Regions from separate parts of the Homo sapiens genome. Here regions 2, 3 and 4 are each linked to region 1. The links are contacts of gene promoters, found by promoter capture Hi-C in human tissues and cell types (Jung and others, 2019). All regions are on one chromosome and are shown on one strand. The core of a region is centred on a gene start or on the middle of the fragment in contact, and the rest is flanking DNA. Distances in the headings are between cores, read along the strand shown.

Region 1 (2,700 bases), core at 112-2,611:
GCATGAGCCACCACGCCCAGACTAAATATGTGTTAAACTAAAGCAGAAGCATCATTACCCGAGTAGGCTCTATAGGAGGAAAGAGGAGACAAGTGAGGAAAGGAGAGAGAATGAAAAAAAGAGACTTAAATTGTAAGCATTGAAGGTTAGGATGGGAAGGCGATTCGCATTTAAATCTCAGGACCCCATTTAGGCTTCTACCTCCCTGACCGCTGGGAGGCTGGTTGCTTTTCACCCCTCTGGGTTCACTTCTATTTGTCTGTGAGCTGTCAGCATCCTTCCCCACTTGTCTTGCCCTGCCTCTGCCAGGGAGGCAGAGTTGGGAGTCGTGGCACAGGCATGCACGCTGTGCAGCCTCCCACACCTGCACCCTGAAAGACCAACAGACACCCTAAGAAACCTGATACACAAGCACAAACTGATAAGATACCCAAAAAGTCAAAGGCAGACAGCAAAACATGGCTAATATTACACAGTACTGCAAGAGAAAGTAACACCAAAACAAAACAAAACACAGACATCATCTCTCAGTTCCTTCTCAAATAAAAAAAAAAGGCCAGGTGCAGTGGCTCACACCTGTAATCCCAGCACTTTTGGAGGCCGAGGTGGGCGGATCACTTGAGGCCAGGAGTTTGAGACTAACCTGGCCAACCATGGCCAACATGGTGAAATCCCCCTATCTCTACTAAAAATATAAAAAATTAGCCGGGCGTGGTGGCTGGCACCTGTAATCCCAGCTACTGAGAGGCTGAGGCAGGAGAACTGCTTGAACCTGGGAGGTGGAGGTTGCAGTGAGCTAAGATTGTACCACTGCACTCCAGCCTGGGCAACAGAGTGTGACTCTGTCTCAAAAAAAAAAAAAAAAAAAGGGTGGGTGAGGTGGTGGCTCACACCTGTAGTCCTAGCACTTTGGGAGGCCAAGGTGGAAGGCTCTCTTGAGGCTAGGAATTCGAGACCTGCCTGGACAACAGACAGAAACACTGTCTCTACAAAAAATAAAAAAACTAGCTAGGTGTGGTGGTGTGTGCCTGTAGTCCCAGGTACTTGGGAACCTGAGCAGGAGGACTGCTTGAGACCAGGGAGCTGGGCCTGCAGTGAACCATGGTTATGCCCCTGCACTCCAGATAGGGTGAAATGGGTAGTTTTTCACTTGATCTCCTCCTCATTGTCTCTTACGTTTAAACAAGTCTCAAACCTGGTGCAGAGGTGCATGTACCTCCATTGCTGGACAAGGCCTGACTTTTGCCTGCTGGTAGGGCCTCCTCAGTTCTAACCAGCCTTCTGTGACCTCATTCTCTATCCTGGTTCCATTTTCCACTTTGTGACTTCATCAGTTAAAGATCCCATTTCAGCCACCAAGGTTGAGAGGCCCCAAGACCCAGTTCCTTTACAGAATCAACCCTGGGGTGGCTTTAGGACTGGGCTCTTTGGAGCTCATCCTTGGACCCACAGTGGAGTGCTGGTCCGTGCTGATGTCTTCAGATACCAATCAATGGGCATTTGGCTCCTTGCTTCCACTGACCTCTTGAGTACTTTCAACGATCGGTGTCAGGAGTGCCCCAGCTGCTGTTTCTAGAGCATCTCTGCAACCCACGGTGGCCTCTCCTCTCTCTGCGGGCCATGGACAGCACAGTCCCTTCAGCCCTGGAGCTGCCCCAGCGGCTGGCACTGAACCCAAGGGAGAGCCCGAGGAGTCCAGAAGAGGAGGAGCCCCACCTGCTGAGCAGCTTGGCTGCAGTCCAGACCCTGGCCAGTGTCATCCGGCCTTGCTATGGCCCCCACGGCCGGCAGAAGTTCCTGGTGACCATGAAAGGAGAAACAGTGTGCACGGGGTGTGCCACTGCCATCCTCAGGGCCCTGGAGCTGGAGCACCCAGCAGCATGGCTCCTCCGGGAAGCAGGACAAACCCAGGCAGAGAATAGTGGGGACGGCACAGCCTTCGTGGTTCTGCTGACGGAAGCCTTGCTGGAACAGGCAGAGCAGCTGCTGAAGGCTGGCCTGCCTCGCCCGCAGCTCCGGGAGGCCTACGCCACGGCCACTGCAGAGGTCCTGGCCACACTGCCCTCCCTGGCCATCCAATCTCTGGGGCCTTTGGAAGATCCATCCTGGGCCCTCCATTCTGTGATGAATACCCACACCCTGTCCCCCATGGACCACTTGACCAAGCTGGTGGCCCACGCCTGCTGGGCTATCAAGGAACTAGACGGCAGCTTCAAGCCTGAGCGTGTTGGGGTGTGCGCGCTGCCCGGGGGGACACTGGAGGATTCCTGCCTCCTCCCGGGGTTAGCAATATCTGGGAAGCTCTGTGGGCAAATGGCCACAGTGTTAAGTGGTGCCAGGGTGGCTCTCTTTGCTTGCCCCTTTGGTCCTGCCCATCCAAATGCACCAGCAACGGCCCGTCTTTCTAGTCCTGCTGATCTAGCTCAATTTAGTAAAGGAAGCGATCAATTACTAGAAAAGCAAGTAGGCCAGCTAGCAGCTGCAGGAATTAATGTGGCAGTGGTGTTGGGGGAGGTCGACGAGGAGACCCTCACACTGGCGGACAAGTATGGCATCGTGGTGATTCAAGCTAGGTCTTGGATGGAGATCATTTACCTGAGTGAGGTGTTGGACACACCTCTGCTGCCTCGTCTGCTCCCTCCCCAGAGGCCAGGCAAGTGCCAGAGGGTTTACAGGCAGGAGCTGGGAGATGGTTTGGCT
Region 2 (2,700 bases), core at 106-2,605, 73 kb after region 1:
CCCGCCGCCTTCGGCTCCTTGCGGGGGTCGGCCCTTGGGTCGGCTCGGGCGCCGGGGGCGGCGACTGCTCCATATCCACGGGGTCCGGGCCGCGTCCACCTGGAGCTAAGGGTCCCGCCAGCTAGGCGCGCGCGCCAGTTTCGCGCGCCATGTTCCCGCCGTGCTGCGCGCCGCCGCGGCGACCCTCACTGCCCCCCAACCGCGCGCGCCACCCCTCCCCGCGCGGCCCGCCTCGCGCCCTCTGGAGCTGGCCGCTGTTCCCAGTGTCTCGCCCACCCCCGCCGGGCCCGTCCGACTTGGAGGGTGAGCGCGTGGTTCCCGGCTCCGCACCGCCGCCTGCCTCTCTGCAGACCATCCCGCACCCGACCCCTCGGCCACTTCCCCACACTGCCCCTTTCGCTTCCCCCACGACGCGGGGCCTAGGACGAGGGTCTGGGCCAAGAGGAACTTCCCTGCAAGAAGTGCGGAGCTAAGGACGCTACTAAGGGGGCGGGATCGCCACCATGGAGGTGTGCAAGCACGTGCCTGCGTCCCGGAGACAGCCAGACTCAACGGAGAAGCTGAGTTCAAGCCCCACATCTCCACTAACCCTTGCGTGTTAGGGTCAGGGCTTCGGGACTTGTTTCTCCTAAATTTTTTTTTTTTTTTTGAGACAGTCTCGCTCTGTCACCCAGGCTGGAGTGCTGTGGTGCGATCTCGGCTCACTGCAAGCTCCGCCTCCCCGATTCATGCCATTCTCCTGCCTCAGCTTCCCGAGCAGCTGAGACTACAGGCGCCCGCCACCGCCTGCTAATTTTTGTATTTTTAGTAGAGGTGGGGTTTCACCGTGTTAGCCAGAATGGTCTCCATCTCCTGACCTTGTGATCTTCCTACCTCGGCCTCCCAAAGTGCTGAGATTACAGGCGTGAGCCAGCGCGCTCGGCCTGTTTCTCCTAAATCTAAAGACTCAATATGATAATCAAGAGAACGTCTCAGCACCGCGCCTAGCGCTTAGTAGGTAGTGATCAAGAGAGAAGACCTCTTAAGTGGTTTTAATGGTTAAGGACCACAGGTTCTCAAGAAAGGGAAATCTCAATTCAAGTCCCGCCTCCATCTTTTGGAAACTGAGAAACCTTGAACAAGTCACTCAGAGGAGCCAAAGATCCTTGATTTCTACATGTGCGAAAGGGGAGTGTGGCAGTAGCACTGCACAGGGTTGACTGAGCTTTCAGGGAGATGAGGACTGTATGATCATGCCTCTCTTAATCACGGGATGGTTCTGAGAAATGACTCCTTAGGTGATTGCAGCATTGTGCAAACAGCAGAGTGCATTTACACAAACCTTGTATAGCCTTGTATAGCCTACTAAACACCTAGGCTGTATGGCGTAGCCTATTGCTCCTAGGCTACACACCTGTACAGCCTGATACTTTACTGAATATACCATAAGCAGTTGTAACACAATGTAAGTACTTGTGTACCTGAACATAGAGAAGGTACAGTAAGAATGGAGTATGAGAGATTTTAAAATGGTACTCCTGTATAGGGCACTTACCATGAAAGGAGCTTGCAGGACTGGAAGATGCTGTGGTGAGTCAGTGAGTGTGAAGGCATAGGACCTTACTGTACACTACTGTAGACTTTATAAACACCATATGCTTAGGCTACACCAAAAATTTTTAAAGCTTTTCTTCAATAAATTAACCTTAGCTTACTGAAATGTATCTTAAAAAATATTGCCAGTCGTGGTGTCTCACACCTGTAATCCCAGCACTTTGGGAGGCCGAGGCAGGCAGATCATTTGAGGTCAGGAGTTCGAGACCATCCTGGCCAACATGGTGAAACCCTCATCTCTACTAAAAATACAAAACTTAGCCAGGCATGGTGGTGTGCACCTGTAATCCCAGCTACTCAGGAGACTGACGGAGGAGAATTGCTTGAACCCAGGAGGCGGAGGTTGCAGTGAGCCGAGATCATGCCACTGCACTCCAGCCTGGGCAATTACACGCATGGAGCTGTCATCTCCTCTGATAACAATGCCTTCTTCTTCCAGAATACTTCCTGAAGGACCTGCCTGAGGCTGTTTTATAGTTAACTACTTTTTAATGTAAGTAGAAGACATACATTCTAAAATTATGAAAAACACTAAATACACCAGGGCTGGGCACAGTGTCTCATGTGGGTAATCCCAGCACTTCGGGAGGCTGAGGAGGGCAGATCATTTGAGGTCAGGAGTTTGAGACCAGCCTGGGCAGTGTGGTGAAACCCCATCTCTGCTAAAAATACAAAGATTAGCTGGCCTTGGTGGTGAGTGCCTGTATTCCCTGCTACTCAGGAGGCTGAGGCAGAAGAATCGCTTCAACCTGTGAGGCAGAAGTTGCAGTGAGCCAAGATCACGCCACTGCACTCCAGCCTGTGCGACAGAGCAAGACTCTGTCTCAAAAAAATAAATCAGTAACATAGTTGTTCATTATCAAGTATTATATATTGTACGTAATTGTACATGCTATGCTTTTATAGAACTGGCAGCACAGATTTGTTTACACCAGCATCACCAGAAACACAGAAATGCATTACCCTAACATTACAATGGCTATGTCACTAAGCAATAGGAATTTTTCAGCTCCATAATCATCTTATGGTACCACTGACTTACGTGTGGTTTGTCATTGACTAAAATGTCATTATACAACACATGACTGCATATCCCAGGGCCCAATG
Region 3 (2,700 bases), core at 32-2,531, 120 kb before region 1:
TTCAAAGGGATGTTAGACAGTAGTTCCATAATAATTGATGCAGTTCACAAACATTCATTGTGAATATTTTATCTCATGAGTTTTATCTATGATACTAATCATAGACTTCTAGAAGAAATTTAACAATGATCATGTCAGCCTTTCAAATCTTTCTGTAACCTAGAAGAGGATCGTTGCATAAGATAGATTCGTTTTCCCCTTTATTCCGTCGTTGCCAGAGAGAACTTGAAATGCCCTGTTCAAATTAATTTAATGCAAATGAATTCTTGCTGCCTCACAAGTAGTTTGTCCTTCATTTTTCTTAAAATTATATTGTAAATGGATGTGACATGCTTAACTGGTTGTTGTGCAGGGGGCATTGTCCTTCCTAAAAGCTCCCTCATTTGTCAAAATGAAGCCATTAAGAGTAAAGTAAATTTTATTATCTGATCACAGTATCACAATTGACCTTAAAACAATAAATTTTATAATCAGTGTAAATTGCTGAATAGTGTTTGCAGTTGTAGAAATTTCAAAGGAAACCCTGGTTGAGATACAAAGCTGCTATAATCATTTTTAAAATCTTCGTTTTTTTTTTTTACTTTGGAACAGTAGTGCAGTAAGTAAGTACTTTTGCCTTATTGCTCTCTCTGCCTTCCAGCAACCCTCATTCAAATATTCTAAGTTTTTAAGTCTTTTTCATTTCTTTTAATATTGTAACATTTAACAATGTCAAAGAAAGTATAAATTTTCTGAAGATCAAGCTAAAAATAAAGAGAGGTTGGTGTAACTGAACATCAAATTAACAAGATTGATTATGAAAGGTAATTTTTGAAAAGGGCCAAAGATCCCTTTGCACATAAATGCAAAAGAATTTAGTGAAATAAGGTGAAACTGGAATAAAGAACTCTACTGATGCTTAAGTAACTCTTAATGAGAATGAGTATTGTACATGCATATTTTTAGCTCCCAGTTTCAGAGATACAGTAGTTGTACAACAAATGGTCCTTTCCTGCTATTAAGGAAGCCTCCCCTCCTCCAGCCATGCTATTCCTCAGAGCAAGCACTTCAACTGAGTTTTCAGCAACCATAAGTAAGAAGGATGGTATGATAGGCTGCGTGTACATATGGCCCTCATTAGCAGGCCAACTGTTCCTTTTGCCCACCCACATCACTGGGGACATATGGCATTACTTTGACTGTGGAAACAAGTGTGTGTGCACATATCTTGGTATGAGTAAAAGACTGTTGATTGTCTTTCTCTTGTCGCTCATGCAACCATCTCCTTGTGGAAATCATATTATCCATAACACTAGATTTGAGGATGATAAATGACGTTGTTATTATTAACTGAATTTGCCTCTCTAGTTTGATCACAAAACCAGTGAATGTTTGCTTATGGAACATGTAAAGCTTATAGAAGATAGAAAGCTTACAGAAAGAAATGATGGCTTTTCTAAGCATAAGAGTCAGGTCTTTTTCAATAAAAAACTAACTCATTCAAAAATTCAAGAATTATGTAAAACCAGAACAGCAGACAGTTCAGAAATGCTATTGAGATCATTTATTATAAAATAGCCAATTAATGAAATGTAATAGTGAGTCTGTTGTTGTTAGTTGTGACTATATGGAGAAATTAATGAGAAAATATAAGATAGGCTGGAATGAAGAGAGTCATCTGATCCCAGCACAATTCATTTTATATAGTTCACAGTATTGTAACTTTTTAAAAAAATTATTAATTTTTTCAATATTGTAAATTCTGAATTTGCAATATGAGGCTTTTCAATACTTGCAACAAGTGTGTATTTTTCAGAGGTGGCTCTAGAATTACATATTGGGGCTTGCAAGCTGCATTCTGATAAGAAGGCAAGGCTAGAGGACTCATGTTGAGGTGGCATTTGCACAGAACTTGATTTAGATAACATACATCAGTGGTGTAGAGAGAAGAGCGGGTGATGTTGCTGAAGATTATAGGGGAGATAATAACACTGAAGGGCACCTTTTGCTACCTCTGCTGGCCTATTTGTATATTCAGCTGTGTAGCATATTTCTTGTATAATTACATAGTAATTTCACACACTACATTAAGAAAATCTGAACAATTTTTACTAAACTCATGTTTTCTAAATATTAAGTAAATAAAACCAATATTTGGATAGGTAACATTTATAAAAACAGTATTTCTAGATAGATATAGATGATAAATTTTCATCTATATCTATAGGGCTGATAAATTTTCAAAACCCTTTGAATATCACTTGTACTACAAAGTCTTGTTTCAGTTTCAGTGCCATGGCACATTGATTAATCACCACTAAAGCGGTACATGAAATATTTGGCAATATAGGTGTCAAGATATTTGGTAATGGTGACTGATGTATGCACTGGCCTTGAGAACTTTAGTTTTCATCTTCGTTCACCTTGATAGAGAACAAACTAACAACTTCAAATTATCTGATCCATCAAACAATTTATTTCCTTGAAACTCACTGATTTATTTATTTATTTATTATTTTGGGGGGATCACTATTATTTGCTGTATTAAAATATCAAATGATCAAGGTATTATACCAACATGGCAGCTCACATGGTGGGCAACAGAATGAAAACAAAGAGGTTTACTACCAAGAATTATACTATATTGCTTTTATTGACAGAAAAAGCGTACAGATAATTTTATTCAGAGATTTTATGTGAATTATTTTGATAAGTGTACAC
Region 4 (2,700 bases), core at 1-2,500, 100 kb before region 1:
CTCCCCTGCCCCTGGTATGCTGGCACCTTGTGTGCAGGTGGGAGGGCTGGGCGAGGGCTGGCATGGCCTTGGTACTACATGCATCTGCCAAGATATGACTTGGGTTCTAATCCTGGCTTCCCTGGTCTGTGTGCCCTTGGTTGAAACTTGCCTTCAAAGGGCCTGTGTTTCCTCACCTCCCTGGCAGGGAGACAAACTGTGATCCTTTTGCGGGGGAAGATCTTTTCTTATTGTGTGTGCTTCTGTAAATTCAAAGGTAATGGAAGCCTATTGTTAACATTTAAACAATGCCACTAAGGAGTAAAAAAAAAAATATGCAAGTCTTACTTTATCACACGGCCTCTTCCCCACCCAATTCCACCCTCCACCTTCAAGGTAACCTCTGTTAAAGGTGATGATGATAAGCTTCGTTTTGACCACACTGGGTGGGTGAAATTATTCTGAGTAGCTGACATTCTTCAGGGCGAGACCAGGATGTCAGGTGCCAGGTAGCAGGTGCAGTCTTCAGACACTGGAGTCAGTGTCTGCCTTAGTTTGAATCTTATCTCTGCCACTTGCTAGCTGGGTAATTTTGGGCAAATACTTAACCTCTTTGTATATCAGTCTCCTCATCTATAAAATGGGGATAATAATAGCACCTACTTGCTTAAAATAGTATCTGGCACATGACAGTGCTCAAAAAAAATGCTTGCTCCCACTGCTGTTATTACTACCTTTTACTGACACTGGTGTCTAATCCATTCCTAGTTCCTGAACATCTTTATTCGGTGTGTTTGGGACCATCTCAGAATAATAAGCCTTCTTTTAGTATCTTTTGAGTCTCACACTTGTCAGTACTTTTGTTTCTTTGTTTTTGTTTTTATTCATGGCCATAGATTTATTTAAATTCTTGTAATATTTCTGCTGAGGAAAACAACAATTACATCATTTCATCAAATCTCAGATGTGCTCAGACACTAACAGGAGCACTAGGCATTTATAGCTGGAAGAATCACAGTACGTTCACCTGCCTTGCAAGATCTGAGGACACAGCAGCTCATTGTCCAGGGAGGGGCTGCCGCTCCATTTCCTTTTGCAGTCTTGTATTGCCAGGCCAGTATTTTACTCATTTCTAGAAGAGTGGCGGCCCCTTCTTACCGAGGAAGCCCATGCCTACTGCTTTTATTTGTAGACATTTAAGCTTCCTTTGGGTAGAACTGGAGGCTTCTCAGTGTCTCCAAACCTGAGGTAGTCCAGCCCCAGGAACTCCATCTCCCCTATCCCCTCCTCCCTGGCCCACGTTGCCCTTGCACTCACAAAGGCAGCCCCCGCCCCCCTTGGTGGTGCCACGTGGTCAGCACGCCCTGCAGATCCTATGGGATGTCAGGTTGTAGGCCTGGCGGCCAGTGCCCCTGCTGGCACCTGTGTGCTCACCTTCCTGGTTATCTTTGCAGACTGCAGCCAGCCCCTGGACGTGATCCTTCTCCTGGATGGCTCCTCCAGTTTCCCAGCTTCTTCTTTTGATGAAATGAAGAGTTTTGCTAAGGCTTTCATTTCAAAAGCCAATATAGGTGAGTGAGTGAGGCACCTGAAGCAGCAGGTGACGAAGAGGCTCTTTTTGGGGCTCCACTTGATTCAGAATAATCCCCATTTTCTTGTTCCGTTTAGGGCCTCCTCTCACTCAGGGGTCAGTGCTCCAGTATGGAAGCATCACCACCATTGACGTGCCATGGAACGTGGCCCCGGAGAAAGCCCATTTGCTGAGCCTTGTGGACGTCATGCAGCGGGAGGGAGGCCCCAGCCAAATCGGTAACGTTGGTGCCACAGGCTGGATGCAGAAGCTGCATTCTGGTTCTTATTTTTGGCATAAGTGACTGTGTGACCTCGGCCAGTCACTTTGCTCCTTGGCCTTAGTTTCTTCTCCTGGAAAGTGAGGGGCTAGATGCTCTTCCACGTCTCTCCAGATCTCAACTGGGTGTTCCTTGGAGTCTCTGAATCATTCAGCTTTTAAGTGACTTAAGGATCCACCGTGAGACAGGGTGTCCAGCCGCAGTCAGTACTGACTTGGTGTGATCTGTTCTCCATCCTCAGGGGATGCCTTGGGCTTTGCTGTGCGACACTTGACTTCAGAAATGCATGGTGCCAGGCCGGGAGCCTCGAAGGCGGTGGTCATCCTGGTCACGGATGTCTCTGTGGATTCAGTGGATGCAGCAGCTGATGCCGCCAGGTCCAACAGTAAGAATCTGGTGTACAGTCCTCAATTCAGGAGAGCGAGACTTCAGAAATGATAGAGGATTAAAAGTGGCCTGGGGTTACTTTTGGATGTTGTGGCTGATATTAAATATGCTCAGTACCAACCTCTGTCCTGGTTTCAAACAGCAGGAAATTATCCAATCACGATGTGATTAGGAAACCAAACAATAATAAGTGTGTGTTGATCCTATATCTTTATAACTAATTATAACCCTTTAATTTCTCCACATTTTCCCTTTGTGTCCAGGAGTGATCATACCTCTATGCCCTTTCTTTCTAAAGTAGGATTCGTGGTCTCTTACTAAAATGTCATGTCTGAGGCCAGAGTGATTCATTGTGGGGCCTTGAGAACCAATGGGGACTTTCATGTATTTAGAGTCCTTTCCTGGTACCAGGTAATGGGCTTGGCAGGGTTGATGGATGAGAGACAAAGGATCATGCTGTAGGAAAGGGAAGGATCCAGATGTC

What was found. Contacts are between HindIII fragments. The study calls those that stand out against the background at their distance.
Region 2: a contact is called between a fragment that was not itself captured here and the fragment with the promoter of CCT8L2 in region 1, in 4 of the 25 tissues and cell types used here (dorsolateral prefrontal cortex, heart left ventricle, lymphoblastoid cells and 1 more).
Region 3: a contact is called between a fragment that was not itself captured here and the fragment with the promoter of CCT8L2 in region 1, in 3 of the 25 tissues and cell types used here (H1 embryonic stem cells, dorsolateral prefrontal cortex and mesendoderm cells).
Region 4: a contact is called between a fragment that was not itself captured here and the fragment with the promoter of CCT8L2 in region 1, in 4 of the 25 tissues and cell types used here (H1 embryonic stem cells, dorsolateral prefrontal cortex, lymphoblastoid cells and 1 more).

What each region holds. Positions count from the first base shown.
Region 1 is chr22:16,591,471-16,594,170 of GRCh38, reverse strand. It overlaps CCT8L2 (chaperonin containing TCP1 subunit 8 like 2), which reads left to right and starts at 1,361. Exons shown (of 1, transcript NM_014406.5): 1 at 1,361-2,700. The coding sequence starts at 1,621. The HindIII fragment of the contact is 16,456 bases long and covers 1-2,700 here.
Region 2 is chr22:16,517,988-16,520,687 of GRCh38, reverse strand. No RefSeq gene overlaps it. Among named protein-coding and RNA genes, the nearest start is that of CCT8L2, 73 kb to the left of the region's middle. The HindIII fragment of the contact is 4,273 bases long and covers 1-2,700 here.
Region 3 is chr22:16,713,203-16,715,902 of GRCh38, reverse strand. No RefSeq gene overlaps it. Among named protein-coding and RNA genes, the nearest start is that of LINC01665, 34 kb to the left of the region's middle. The HindIII fragment of the contact is 4,386 bases long and covers 1-2,700 here.
Region 4 is chr22:16,694,092-16,696,791 of GRCh38, reverse strand. It overlaps the pseudogene VWFP1. Among named protein-coding and RNA genes, the nearest start is that of LINC01665, 53 kb to the left of the region's middle. The HindIII fragment of the contact is 3,702 bases long and covers 1-2,700 here.